Linked DNA regions of Homo sapiens: region 2 is linked to region 1. Evidence: promoter capture Hi-C in 16 types of primary human blood cells and fetal thymus (Javierre and others, 2016). All regions are on one chromosome and are shown on one strand. The core of a region is centred on a gene start or on the middle of the fragment in contact, and the rest is flanking DNA. Distances in the headings are between cores, read along the strand shown.

Region 1 (6,471 bases), core at 1,103-3,602:
CTTAAAAATCCCTTGAAAATCCTGAACCAGTTTATTGAATACTTTGATCTAAATAATTTTACACGGGCTTTCTGCATACACCTGCTTCCTGCTTCTCTAGTGACATAGGCTAAAGGGTGTTTAGAAGCTGCCAAAAAAGTATGTCATAAATGCCACCATTATATGTTTATGAATACACAAAATATAGAGGAAATATATTCCAGCATTCAAAATTATCTGATTCAGAAATAAACAATGAAGTTCCACAATTTCAAGAAAGAACATATTCAATTGTGTCAAATATTGTTGCAAGGGCAAGTAAATACAGAGGAAAAAAAGGGAGATTTGGCCAGATAAAGTCACTAGTGACTGTACAGGCACTGCTTCAGTGGAGTAAGCAGGGAAGGAAGTTTGGGTTGGGTTGAGGAAGTGGGAAAGTTGAGACAGTAAGTACAGTAGTAATTCTTTGGAGTGCTGTAAGGGAGCAGAAAAATGGGGTGTAGCTAGAGAGTGAGAATGGATTAAAGGTTTTTTTTTAAAAAAAAAAGGCTGGGCGCGGTGGCTCACGCCTGTAATCCCAGCACTTTGGGAGGCCAAGGTGGGCGGATCATCTGAGGTTGGGAGTTTGAGACCAGCCTGACCAAAATGGAGAAATCCCGTCTCTACTAAAAATACAAAATTAGCTGGGTGTGGTGGCGCATGCCTGTAATCCCAGCTACTCAGGAAGGCTGAGGCAGGAGAATTGCTTGAACCTGGCAGGCGGAGGTTGCGGTGAGTCGAGATCATGCCACTACTCCAGCCTGGGCAACAAGAGTGAAACTCGGTCTAAAAAAAAAAAAAAACAACAACAACAACAAAAAACGACAGATTCTAAAGCATGTTAAAATGTACCATCCAGTAGTGAGGGAGAAATTAAAGTGACGGAGAACTTAAAGGGGCAAAAAAAGGGATAAGTTAAATGGTAAAACCTTTGAGTAGGTGTAAGAGGACACCATCTGGAGCAGAAAGGAGGGTGGGACCGTTGCTGGCTTTAGATAAGAAATAAGATCGACTTTATATGGTTATTATGATGCTCCAGATAAAATAACCATTGTGAAAACCCTTCATAAGTTTTAAGATACTAAAATGTACTACCAGGCCGGGTCTGGTGGCTCAGGCCTGTAATCCTAACATTTTGGGAGGCCAAGGTGGGCAGATCACCTTAAGTCAGGGGTTTGAGACCAGCCTGGCCAATATGGTGAAACCCTGTCTCTAGTAAAAATACAAAAATAAACTGGGTGTGGTGGCGCACACTTGCAGTCACAGCTACTCGGAAGGCTGAGGCAGGAGAATAACTTGAACCCAGGAGGCAGAGGTTGCAGTGAACTGAGATCACGCCACTGCACTCAGCCTGGGCAACACAGCGAGATGCCTTCTCAAAAACAAACAACAACAAAAAACTAACCAAATAAAATGTACTATCAAACAACTGCTCAGGCAATGAAGTATTTTACTACACCCATGTGCCACTTGTAGATTCACAGATAAGTATTTTCCAAGCTTATTATATCCCTAATCAATAAAATTTTTTATCATAATAGATGATGTTTTCACTTATTTATTTTTACGCTTCGTGGAAAAAAGCCCACAAGACGTGTTTGGATTCTTGGTTTCACTTTTAAAGCAGCAAACAATCTTTACTTTGCTTGAATTGGAACCTGTATACGTCCTATTTTGTTTCCTCTACTAAATTTATTGAATAAACAAATGATTCGCGTGGCCTTTATAAGTTTCGTAATTTCGCTTTTCCTTTTTACCTGTGGTCCTTGATGCTAGGGGCAGGAGAAGAAAAACTAACCTATTCTTTAAAAACGCGTTTCCCTTTTCCATCTCTAAAAAAACTGAAAAGACGTAAAACAAATGGGAGGGGGCAAAGGAAAGAAATGAGGAAAAATCTAAGGAAGATTAATGTGTACTTCCCGGTCAGCGGGAAGGTGGACGGAGTAATATCTTTGCGGAGGATTGGGGTGTGGGGATCTGTGAAGGCGCAGTATGAGCAGTAAGGACTTGTCAACCAGCCCGACGCAACTTCACCGAGGGCGAGGAAAGGAGCTCTGAGGAAGGGGTTACTCCCGGGCAGGACTGTAAACCAGCTGGAGGCCTCGCTGGGAGGGCTTTAGAGGAATGAAACGTCCTTAAGAGGGGCGGATGGGGAATGGTATCAAGGGTATGGGTTCTTTAGGGCCTTGAAACAACGAAGGCTCAAACCAGTGGGCACAAAGGCTACCGGAACAGTAGTACGCGCTGAGAGAAGGGACACTATTCCCTTCACCTACCAATCGCTGCTGGCCCGGGCGCCGCTGGACTCCTAGGTAACGTCGCAGGCGGAAATGACGTAACTCAATCCGTTCTGTCCCGCCCCATTGCCCTCCTAGCCCCGCCTTCTAGGCCCCGCCTTTCCTCTATTCGCGCTCTGACAAAGTGCAGGGGATATAGACCAACCGCTTGTGAAGGCTGCTGGTTCTGTTAGAAGCCCGCTTTCGATTGTCAGTGGCTTTGAGGCAAAGGATTTTGGAAGGGAAAGCAAAGTGATTGTCTACGAAGTTGGGCTTAGTATATAATAAAGCCCAGTCATTTCAACCAAGAACCTTAAAGATGTTGAGAAATATAATGAAATATTTTCTATTAATTTTTGTAAAATTTTTCTTGAGATAGGGTCTCAATCTGTGGCCGAGGCTGGAGTGCAGTGGCGCGATCTCGGCTCACTGCAGCCTGGAACTCCCCTGGCTCAGGTGATTCTCCCACGTCAGCCTCCCGAGTAGCTGGGACCGTAGGAGTGCACCACCACGCCAGGCTCATTTTTCTATTTTTATTAATAGTGGCGACAGGGTTTCTCCATGTTGTCCAGGCTGGTCTTGAACTCCTGGGCTCCAGCGATCCCCCCCTACCCCATCTCCCGCCTTGGCCTCCCAAAGTGCTAGGATTACAGGCGTGAACCACCGCGCCCGGCCTATTTAATTAGTTTAATTTATTCATTTGAAAATGAGACAACTGATCCTTCTAGCTATTTGACAGGTCTTGCTCAAGGTCAAAGAATACGTGACTTGCAGTCCAATGTTATTTCTAAATGTAAGCTCTTCAGCTGGTTAAGCTAAACTGCTTTAAGTGAAAACAGACGACCTCTTGAATGAGTTTTCAAATGACCTTAAATAATGCAAGCACTGCTTATCTAAAGCAAGTCTGACTTGCTTGAATTCTGAGTCTGACACTTTGGCAGTGCTTTAGTTGGTCACAGATTATTGCAATGTGAAAAAATCTTGTTCAGAACTGCCCAGTTTTGCTATGTTCGTCCTATGTTCATGCATGGAATATAATTTGTTTGTAAGGAAGATAAACTTTTAAGGAGGGAAAAGAAACACCTGAAGAGAAATTTCCCTGTATAATGAAAACATTTGTACAGAAAAAATTCTTGGTAGGTTAATTCAGTGACTCACTGAACTTCCAGAGTTCTTTAAAATCATCACAATCATAAGCAAGGGGTGAGCTTCAGTTCCTCTTTATGTAGTTGCCTTGATGCATTAATACACAGTAGTTATGAACAATAAACTGTAAAAATATAGTCATGGAAACATTATGTATATCTTAATTTTCAATCTAATAGAAACTGGGTTAAAAAATTTAAATTCAGGCCAGGTGTGGTGGCTCACACCTGTAATCCCAGCACTTTGGGAGGCTGAGGTGGGCGGATCACTTGAGGTCAGGAGTTCAAGACCAGCCTGGACAACATGGTGAAACCCCCTCTCTACTAAAAATACAAAAATTAGCCCAGCCTCCCAAGTAGCTGGGACTACAGGCGCCCTCCATGATACCCGGCTAATTTTTTGTATGTTTAGTAGAGACGGGGTTTTACTGTGTTAGCCAGGATGGTCTCAATCTCCTGGTGGCGCGCTGCCTGTAGTCCCAGCTACTCAGGAAGCTGAGGCAGGAGAATTGATAGAACCCGGGAGGCAGAGGTTGGTTGCAGTGAGCCGAGATAGCGCCATTGCACTTCAGCCTGGCAACACAGCAAGATTCCCTCTAAAAAAAAAAAAAAATTAAATTCAAAATTACACAACAATGTGAATGTACTTAAGTCCACTGAATTGTACAATTGAAACTAGTTAGAAGGATAAATTTATGTATATTTTACCACAATTTAAAAATTTTAAATTAAAAAACTGCAAAACTAAGCCAGTAAATAATTTAGAACAAAAATTCCTAAATGTACTGGATGAAATATAAAAATAAATTTAAGGTATACTGCTGTTTAGATATTATTTTTATTAGGTTGGTGCAAAAGTAATTGCGGTTTTTGTCATTAAACATACATAATTAAACATAATGGCAAAAACCGCGATTACTTTTGCATCAACCTAATAAACTGCATATTTTTAATGTAGTGCTTATCTGAATTATTTTAAAAAGTATTTACAATAGTTACTGTTGAGTACTTATGTTACCTCTAACCTGATCCACAAGAATTCAGCAATTTCTACATAACAGGCTAGAACATTTTCTTATTGCTCTAATACATGTAAAAATTGTTCAGTTCTTTAAAAGTATCTTTCTTTAAAGTAGCCACAAGGGATCATTAAGACTAGAAACTGTCAAGTGTTAGGTTTATTCATTTATATGTACCTGCTTAAATCTAGGAACAGTTTACTAAGACGCAGAACTCAGAAGAACTTCTGGGTGGTTTCACAGAAATCGTTCCTTCCTTCCTTCTCTCTTCCCCTCTCCACTTATTCTCTTCCTCTTCTTTTTCTCTCTTCTTTGTCTTACTACTATTATACAATATATCATATTATATTTATGAAATTAATATTCTTGCTTTCCACTTACAAGGCAAAGATTTTTCTTTATAAACCATGTGAAGACAAGAGATAAGGAAACAAAAATGAATTGGCATGAGGAAAGGGGAAATATCTGTAGTGCCGAGGGAGAAGAGTCACAATTACATGCCATTTTGCCTAGGGAGAAGAGTCACAATTATATGCCATTTCTTTCCTCTCTGCTTTGGCACTGGAGCAAACTCCAACAATAGGGGACTCCAAGGCTGTCTCCCGGATGTGAGCATGGAATCTTTTATAATTGTGGAAAATATGTCATGTAGTAGAAAACCACAATGTCACACATGAGGAGTGGGTGTGGGTCAAAGGCACAGGTCCTGCAGTGGTCCTAAAGGAGGCCAGAGGGACCTCCAACCAGGCATCAATCCTCTTGTTGAGGCTTAGCAGTTTGAAGAGGCTAGAGGAAGGGAGTTGGCACCTTTAGCTAATTCTTGGCTGAGAAATCTGTCCTCTTCACTACAGTGACTCTTGTTATGCCAGGGGACTGTTTGTCTTCTGTGTACCCTTGTTGTATTTTCTTTTTCTTTTTTTTTTTTTGTTTTTGAGATGGAGTCTCGCTCTGTTGCCCGGGCTGAAGTGCAGTGGCAGGATCTCAGCTCACTGCAAGCTCTGCCTCCTGGGTTCACGCCATTCTCCTGCCTCAGCCTCCCAAGTAGCTGGGACTACAGGCGCCCTCCATGATACCTGGCTAATTTTTTGTATTTTTAGTAGAGATGGGGTTTTACTGTGTTAGCCAGGATGGTCTCGATCTCCTGACCTTGTGATCCACCCACCTCGGCCTCCCAAAGTACTGGGATTACAGGCGTGAGCTACCATGCCTGGCCCCTTTTAGTATTTTCACCATCAACAAAAATAATGGTGCCAAGCTTAAATATTTTTTCTTTTCTTTTCTTTTTTTTTTTTTTGAGACTGTAACCACACAATGAGTTCTCCTTGTCTGCTGCCTAGACAGAGCCAATTTATCAAGACAGGGGAATTGCAATAGAGTTTAATTCTTGCAGAGTTGGCAGTATGGGAGACCGCAGTTTTATTTCTTGAATCAGTCTCCCTGAAATGTCAGGGATTGTGGTTTTTAAGGACAATTTGGTGGGTAGGGGATCAGAAAGTGGGGAGCTGCTGATTAGTTGGGTCAGAGATGAAATCAAAGGGAGTCGAAGCTGTCCTCCTATGCTAAGTCAGTTCCTGGGTCGGGGCCACAAGACCAGATAAGCCAGTTTATTGATCTGAGTGATGCTAGTGGAATCATCAAGTGCAGGGTCTGCAAAATATCTCAAGCACTGATTTTAGGTTTACAATAGTGATGTTATCCCCAGGAGCAATTTGAGGAGGCTCAAAGTCTGGCAGCCTTCAGATGTATGAATCCTAAATCATAATTTCTATGTTTCAGCTAATTTGTTAGTCCTGCAAAGGCAGTCTAATCCTCAGGCATGAAGAGGGCTTCTTTTGGGAAAGCGCTGTTACCATCTTTGTTTCAAAGTTAAACTATAAACTAAGTTCCTCCCAAGGTTAGTTTGGCCTATGCCCAGGAATAAACAGGGACAGCTTGGAGGTTAGAATCAAGATGGAGTTGGTTAGGTCAGATCTCTTTCACTGTAATGATTTTCTCATTTATAATTTTTGCAGA
Region 2 (6,471 bases), core at 1,531-4,030, 910 kb before region 1:
TAAAAGAGTCTGTAAAAGTTTTCCTTCGAGTCTTATTTTACAAAAACATAAATTTGAGCAGATTATAGTCACCTACCCACTCCTAGGATATCTAAAACAGGGCTCTTTTACTGCCTAAATAGGTGGCAAATGAATATATGATTAGATGTTTAAATCTAAGTTCATCTCAATACATCTCATTTTCATGGGGCAGAAGTAATAATTCCTGTACAATTCTGTAAATCAATATATAAAGCTATACTTATTTAATTAAATTATTCAGTTCCTCAATCAGACTATCCAGTGGCTATTGAACTGGGCAGCACAGACAGGAACATTTCTACCATCACAGGAAGTTCTACTGGACAGCACCACCATAAAGTTTTAGGAATCAGCCGGGCACGGTGGCTCACGCCTGTAATCCCAGCACTTTGGGAGGCCAAGGCAGGCGGATTACGAGGTCAGGAGTTCGAGGCCAGACTGGCCAACACGGTGAAACCCCATCTCTACTAAAAATACAAAAATTAGCCAGGCATGGTGGCACATGCCTGTAATCCCAGCTACTTAGGAGGCTGAGGCAGGAGAATTGCTTGAACCCGGGAGGTGGAGGTTGCAGTGAGCCGAGATTGTGCCATTGCACTCCAGCCTGGGCAACAAGAGCAAAACTCTGTCTCAAAAAGCAAAAAAATAAATAAATAAATAAAAATAAAGTTTTAGGAATCTTTGGTAGCTACAGGTGTTCTGCTATAAATATGAAGATTGGTACATGATCATTTGGATCACGATTCATTCTTAAGTGATTAATTCAAAGCTCCTGGGTAGATATGTGAAATAAACTAGTAATGCAAACCCTCATTATTAAATTTTGAAAAACACAATTAGGCAGGAGGGTTCCAAAATAAGCCATGTGCCTAATAAATATATTGTTGACTGGTGGGACTAGCTTTGTAAAGGCAGGTTGTATCTTATTCACCTCTGTACTGTCAACTACTTGTCCCATGCCTGGCACAAATAGGTGCTTAAAGAATGTTTGTTAAAGTAAAAGGAGCTGCTAACCTGCTTCCTCATTTTGTTTCACAATAACTGAACCTCCCAACTTAAGTCTATGAAAAGAAAACACCCAGAAGAATCATTTTTTAAAAGATAATTGTATGATAATACCTTTTTCCACAAAATTCAAATACAGAGTGATCTTTTGTCCTAAATCATCCACTACTTCTTTTCCATTGAGGGTAACATAGGCTCTCTTAGATTCTTCTGTAGTTCTGTATCTTGCAAATGAGTACGGCTTGTTAGGTGGCATTAAGAGAGCATCCACCAGTCCACATTTCTCTAAAACCGGGAGCAGCTGGTTCCGACTCACACCATTACCCAAACCACCATTGGCAACAACCAGGCTCTTAAAAAACAAACAAACAAACAAAAAGAAAGTAACATGAGCAACTGATACCAACCCATTTGTTTTAAAATAAGATTTTTTTTAAAAAAGATGTAATTAAGAAAAAAAAAGCATTTCCTTGTAGTGGTTGTTTGGTTTGCTAATTTCATACAAAGTATGTAAACCAATTTACTAAAAATTTGGGGAATAAAAAGGACTCCTATATTGTAAATTGTGTTGTTTAAATAGCCAATTTCACAAAATATTCATTTCTAAATGACCATAAATGCAAATTAAAACATGACTATTATTCAGAAATATAAATTTAACATAATGAAAGAGGTGGAGAGGAGAAAGGACAGTTACATAACACTTGCTTTTTGGCAAGACTGTTCTATAAGCTTTTATCTACTCAATCCTCATTAACATAATCTTCACAACATATTGAATTTATTTGGGTAATATCAGCCCAATTTCATAGAAGAAGATCTGACAAATTAGGTTAAGGTGGTGATTAGGGGTGGGTTTAAACCTATTTCTGTCCGTTTCCAGGATCCGCACTTTTAATATAACCATTATACAATGTTTACTAAAAATTAAAAGTAAAGGTACTATTACCTCAAAGAAAAACCAATTATAGCTTCTATTGAACATAATTAGGAAAAAATTTTCCTCTAAGGAAATTCAGACTAAGTAATTCAGTCAGTTCACAATGAAAACTTTTTCCTTTGTAAGTTTCACGATTACTTCCTGCTGTTTGCATAGTCCTGCACTAAACTTTATTCAAGGAAATTTTGCAGGGATGAAAGAGGAGTCTCTTATTTTTATTCTGATGTTCATGGTCTAGCACCCATATAGTCTCTATACTTAACCATTCTATACAATGTAAAGATTTTTAATTTATGTTCTATGACTTCTAAAAACATTTCAATATAACAAAAGAAAGCCATGGATGGCCTACTCTCATCAATTTCTTCATTTATACCAGGTGTTGATGACGTTTTTCTGAGAAGAGGTAGATAGTAAATATTTTAGGCTTGGCAGGCCATAAAAGTTTCTGTCAGATAGTCTTAGTATTATTTTTTAACACTTTAAGAATGTAAAACTCATTATTTTGGTCACAACCCTGATTTAGTCTAAGGACAGTAGTTTGCCAACCCTTAATTTATACTAAGCTCAGTGATAGTACATTGTGTATTGGTTTATTACACAAAATAAGAATACCTAGAACTTTGTTTGAAAAGGATATAAAAGAATTATTATGAAATTGGACAATAAGGAAAGTAAAACTGTTTTGTCATGGGACAGCCAGTACTTTGTATGCATGCAAGCATATACATACATAATAAACAAGCCCACTAATACAATACTATATGATATGGAGTAAAATGGAGTCTCAGATGGCTTGCCCTGGACCTCACTTAATGAGGTTTATTAATTAAAATACCAAAATAACTTGGTTATATGTGGCCATAGTTGCAAAAACATTCCCATATTCCTAAATCTATGGAAGAGCAAAGGTTTCATTGGTGTTGAGGGTCCACTACCCCATCTAGGAATGGAAGATGATGAAGTATGACTTCAGGAATACTAGAAGTCCTCTAAGATGCCGTCTGAGTGTTTTGTGGGCAACTCTAAAGGTAAACCACACAAAAACAAGTGCGGTAGAAGAGGAGAGGAACTTATTTTCCATTAAATGTGAGATACATATAATTAAATGTCATAACTAAATGTAATATAATTAATGCAATAATTAAATGGAACTATTATTTTATTTATAATTGTTCAAGCAATTTTCTAAATAAGGAGGAGTATGTATGAAGTAGAGAATGTGAATTTTTTTTAAGTTATCTTTGGTCCTGACAATTTGAGGATCATTGCTCTAGAAAAATCTGTAATGCCATAAATTTGTACAAAGGAGCCTAAAATTATAATACATCCGATATGGTTTGGCGTGTCCCCACCCAAATCTCATCTTGAATTTTAGCTCCCATAATTCCCACATTTTGTGGGAGGGACCCACTGGGAAATAATTGAATCATGGGGGCCATTTCCCCTATAATGTTCTCGTGGTAGTGAATAAGTCTCATGAGATCTGATGGTTTTATAAGGGGTTTCCCCTTTCGCTTGGCTCTCATTCTTTCTTGCCTGCCGCCATGTAAGCCAGGACTTTCGCCTTCTGCCACGATTGTGAGGCCTCCCCGGCCACGTGGAACTGTGGGTTCATTAAACCTCTTTCTCTTTAAAAAATTACCCAGTCTCGGGTATGTCTTTATCAGCAGCATGACAACAGACTAATACAATATCATTAAAACAATATTTGCTCTCCCCTGGAAAGATAAAATATAATTAGAGGTCCATCTACAATTTTATTCTTTTCCTTTAAGAATATGGAGAAAAAAGAAAGCCTAAATAAAATGCTACTTTGGAAGCCATGAAGGACATCAAAGCTTCTAGAGATCCTAAAGAAAAGGCAGACCCAACCAGAAACAAGCTTCAGAGGGGTCAAAGAAATGGAGCCTATTTTTTTTTTCTTGCTACTTCTCTTCATAAACCCTGTAAGGAAAGGAACACAAGTCACTCTTGGAAAGTGATGAGAGCAGTGTATGTCAGTTTAATCTTCTGAATGTCTCACAGCCTCAGTGGCTCTTGACTGAAACAGTAAAGTGTATGCAAACATATTAATTCTAATCTATTATCTATTTCATCCTTGCTATAGGAATGTGGCTTAAATTCTCTGAAGACATTAATATTTAACTCCAAGTATGGGCCTTTTACCTCCTAAATTCAAATGTGCCTCAACAGACTGCTCATTCTCAAGCTATGATGTTGTACAGAAGACAGCATAGTAAGCATTAAGGCAAGAGTATTGGTCTGAGAGTTGAGAGGCCTAAGTTTTAATCCCTGCTCCACCTTCTCAATTGTATGTCCACCCCTCAATTAAATGATATCTAAAGCTTACTTTCTACTTTTATTCTATAACTTTATGAGCCAAAAAGATAAGAACTCCTTATATTCATGGAGTAATTTAATGTCCAGTAAGTACAATTAGATTCTCTGGAATCTAACAATCTAATGGGGTTAAAAAGGTATGCAATACTATGCCCTGCTTAAAAATGAAGAAAGCTGAGGTCAGAGGATACTACTACTCGTGTCCAGAAAAGCTAAGAGTTAAACTGAGTTCTCCTAATTCATAACCCAGGAAATCTCACGATCCTCACATTTATCATCTCATTTAATTATTGTCCGCAGATAATGAAAAGACTTTGTTAATAAGGTCTAATAAAATAAAAATGTTTAACAGCACATAATCAAAATACTTTATAAAACAGGTTAAGGTTGGGAAGAGAAGAACAAGGGCTGTAGTAGGATATGGAAGATCTAGCTTTAAGTTTCTATTAGCTACTTACTAGCTTATATCAATGGAGACATATCATAACCTCTCAGAACTTTAGTTTTCTCACCTATCTCATAAGGACTTCTAGGGAATTAAATATAATAATGAATATAAGTATGCTTAGGAAACTGAGAAACTTGCACAGTATTATTATTAATATATAACTACAACCTCTTCTAGTTCAAACAACAAAATAAATAGAAATGCAAACTATAGGCTATGGACCAAAATAGAAAGTTAGCAGTTCATATCATATGTACCTCTAATATGGATGTAACACATGACTGAACAATTACAGCCTTAGGCAATTATTAGCAAATATTAATATAATACATTAACATGTCAGTACATTTACATTCTAATAATAATAGTAGTTTTAGGTCACCTGAGTGGCATAGGATACTGTCTCAATGCCTTCATGTCTCAGCAAAGTATGCTTGGCTTTAATCTGTTTCCTTAAGAACTTCTTCTCAGTTTTACTGAGTTTGTAATTACTTTGATGGTTGCTGTCCATAGCAAACTGTAAAAAAACAAGACAGTAAAAAAGTCAACCTTAAGAGTCCTGAAGGAACAATTATAATGATGTTATTCATACATTCTATAGTTTATCAATATTTCTGTGACAATTTTTTAAAAATGCTTCATTTACCTTGTACCAACTAAGAGAAGTGAGAACAGATAAATAAAAAATGAACAAATATCTAAGAATATCTAATAGCATAGCTCTGATGGTTCTAAAAAATGTTCCAATGTGGTAGCTCCATTAAGTGTGCTATTTTACTCATAGGTGATGAATTCTTTACTTATGAGGTCCTAAGTAAAATGTGCCATACACAAATTTCACAACTATAACGTAAACCAAGGCAAGGAGCAGGCAGGGGAGCGGTGGGGGGAGAAATAACACACAAAAAATTAGCAGACTCTACAGTATGATTCCATTTACATAAAGGTCATAATCAAAAAGTAAGCCATATATTATTTAGAAATACATACATAGCAGTGCCAAAAAAAAAAGCAAGGAAATTATAAACACAAAATTCAGGAGAGAGGCTATTTCTGTGGGTGAAAGGAAAGGAAATTAACATGAAAGTGACACATAGGAGCATCAAAGGGTGTTTCTTCAGTTACATGGTAGGTGTAGGTGTTTGTTTTACTATTTTAAAAACTGTATGTGTCATATATTTTATATCTACAATTTTTTAAATAACAGAATCCCAAAGAGGTCTCTATAATCACACCATCCAAATCAGCACCCAATATCATGCTTTATCACACTTTATCACAGTAGTCTTTTATTTTGTTCACAAAATGTAACATAATTTGTGATGATTCATCTGTTAGCTTAACTCCTCCATCATGATATAAATCCCAAGAGAGCAGGAATGCCAGCACATAGTAGTTGCTCAATAAATATTTGATGGTAGGGCTAAATGAATAATAAATGAGTGAATACACACAGTCTCAGCACCCTGCAGCATGCAACCATAATAAAGTACATAGTTTATGCTTTCAACAAGTTTGTAACTTAGTTGTGGAAAACAAACACTAAACAATAAGACTATGACACATCTTTATATAATTTAATGCTGATGGTACAGTCTTTAGGTATGACACAAATTAGAGACAAAAATAAGATGGATGTGGGCTGGGAGCAGTGACTCACACCTGTAATCTTTAGGAGGCCAAGGCAGGCAGATCACTTGAGGTCAGGAGTTCA

What was found. Contacts are between HindIII fragments. The CHiCAGO score rates a contact against its expected background, and 5 or more counts as called.
Region 2: a fragment that was not itself captured here is called in contact with the fragment with the promoter of C11orf65 in region 1 in 2 of 17 cell types (monocytes and naive CD8 T cells); the score reaches 6.9 in monocytes.

What each region holds. Positions count from the first base shown.
Region 1 is chr11:108,465,177-108,471,647 of GRCh38, forward strand. C11orf65 (chromosome 11 open reading frame 65) reads right to left here and starts at 2,353. Exons shown (of 9, transcript NM_152587.5): 1 at 2,295-2,353. RefSeq lists a silencer at 246-540, enhancers at 1,572-2,424, 2,365-2,509 and a cis regulatory region at 2,437. The HindIII fragment of the contact is 4,195 bases long and covers 1,517-5,711 here.
Region 2 is chr11:107,555,626-107,562,096 of GRCh38, forward strand. It overlaps ALKBH8 (alkB homolog 8, tRNA methyltransferase), which reads right to left. Exons shown (of 12, transcript NM_138775.3): 2 at 5,140-5,274; 3 at 1,141-1,378. The coding sequence starts at 5,268. Among named protein-coding and RNA genes, the nearest start is that of ALKBH8, 6.9 kb to the right of the region's middle. The HindIII fragment of the contact is 2,049 bases long and covers 1,757-3,805 here.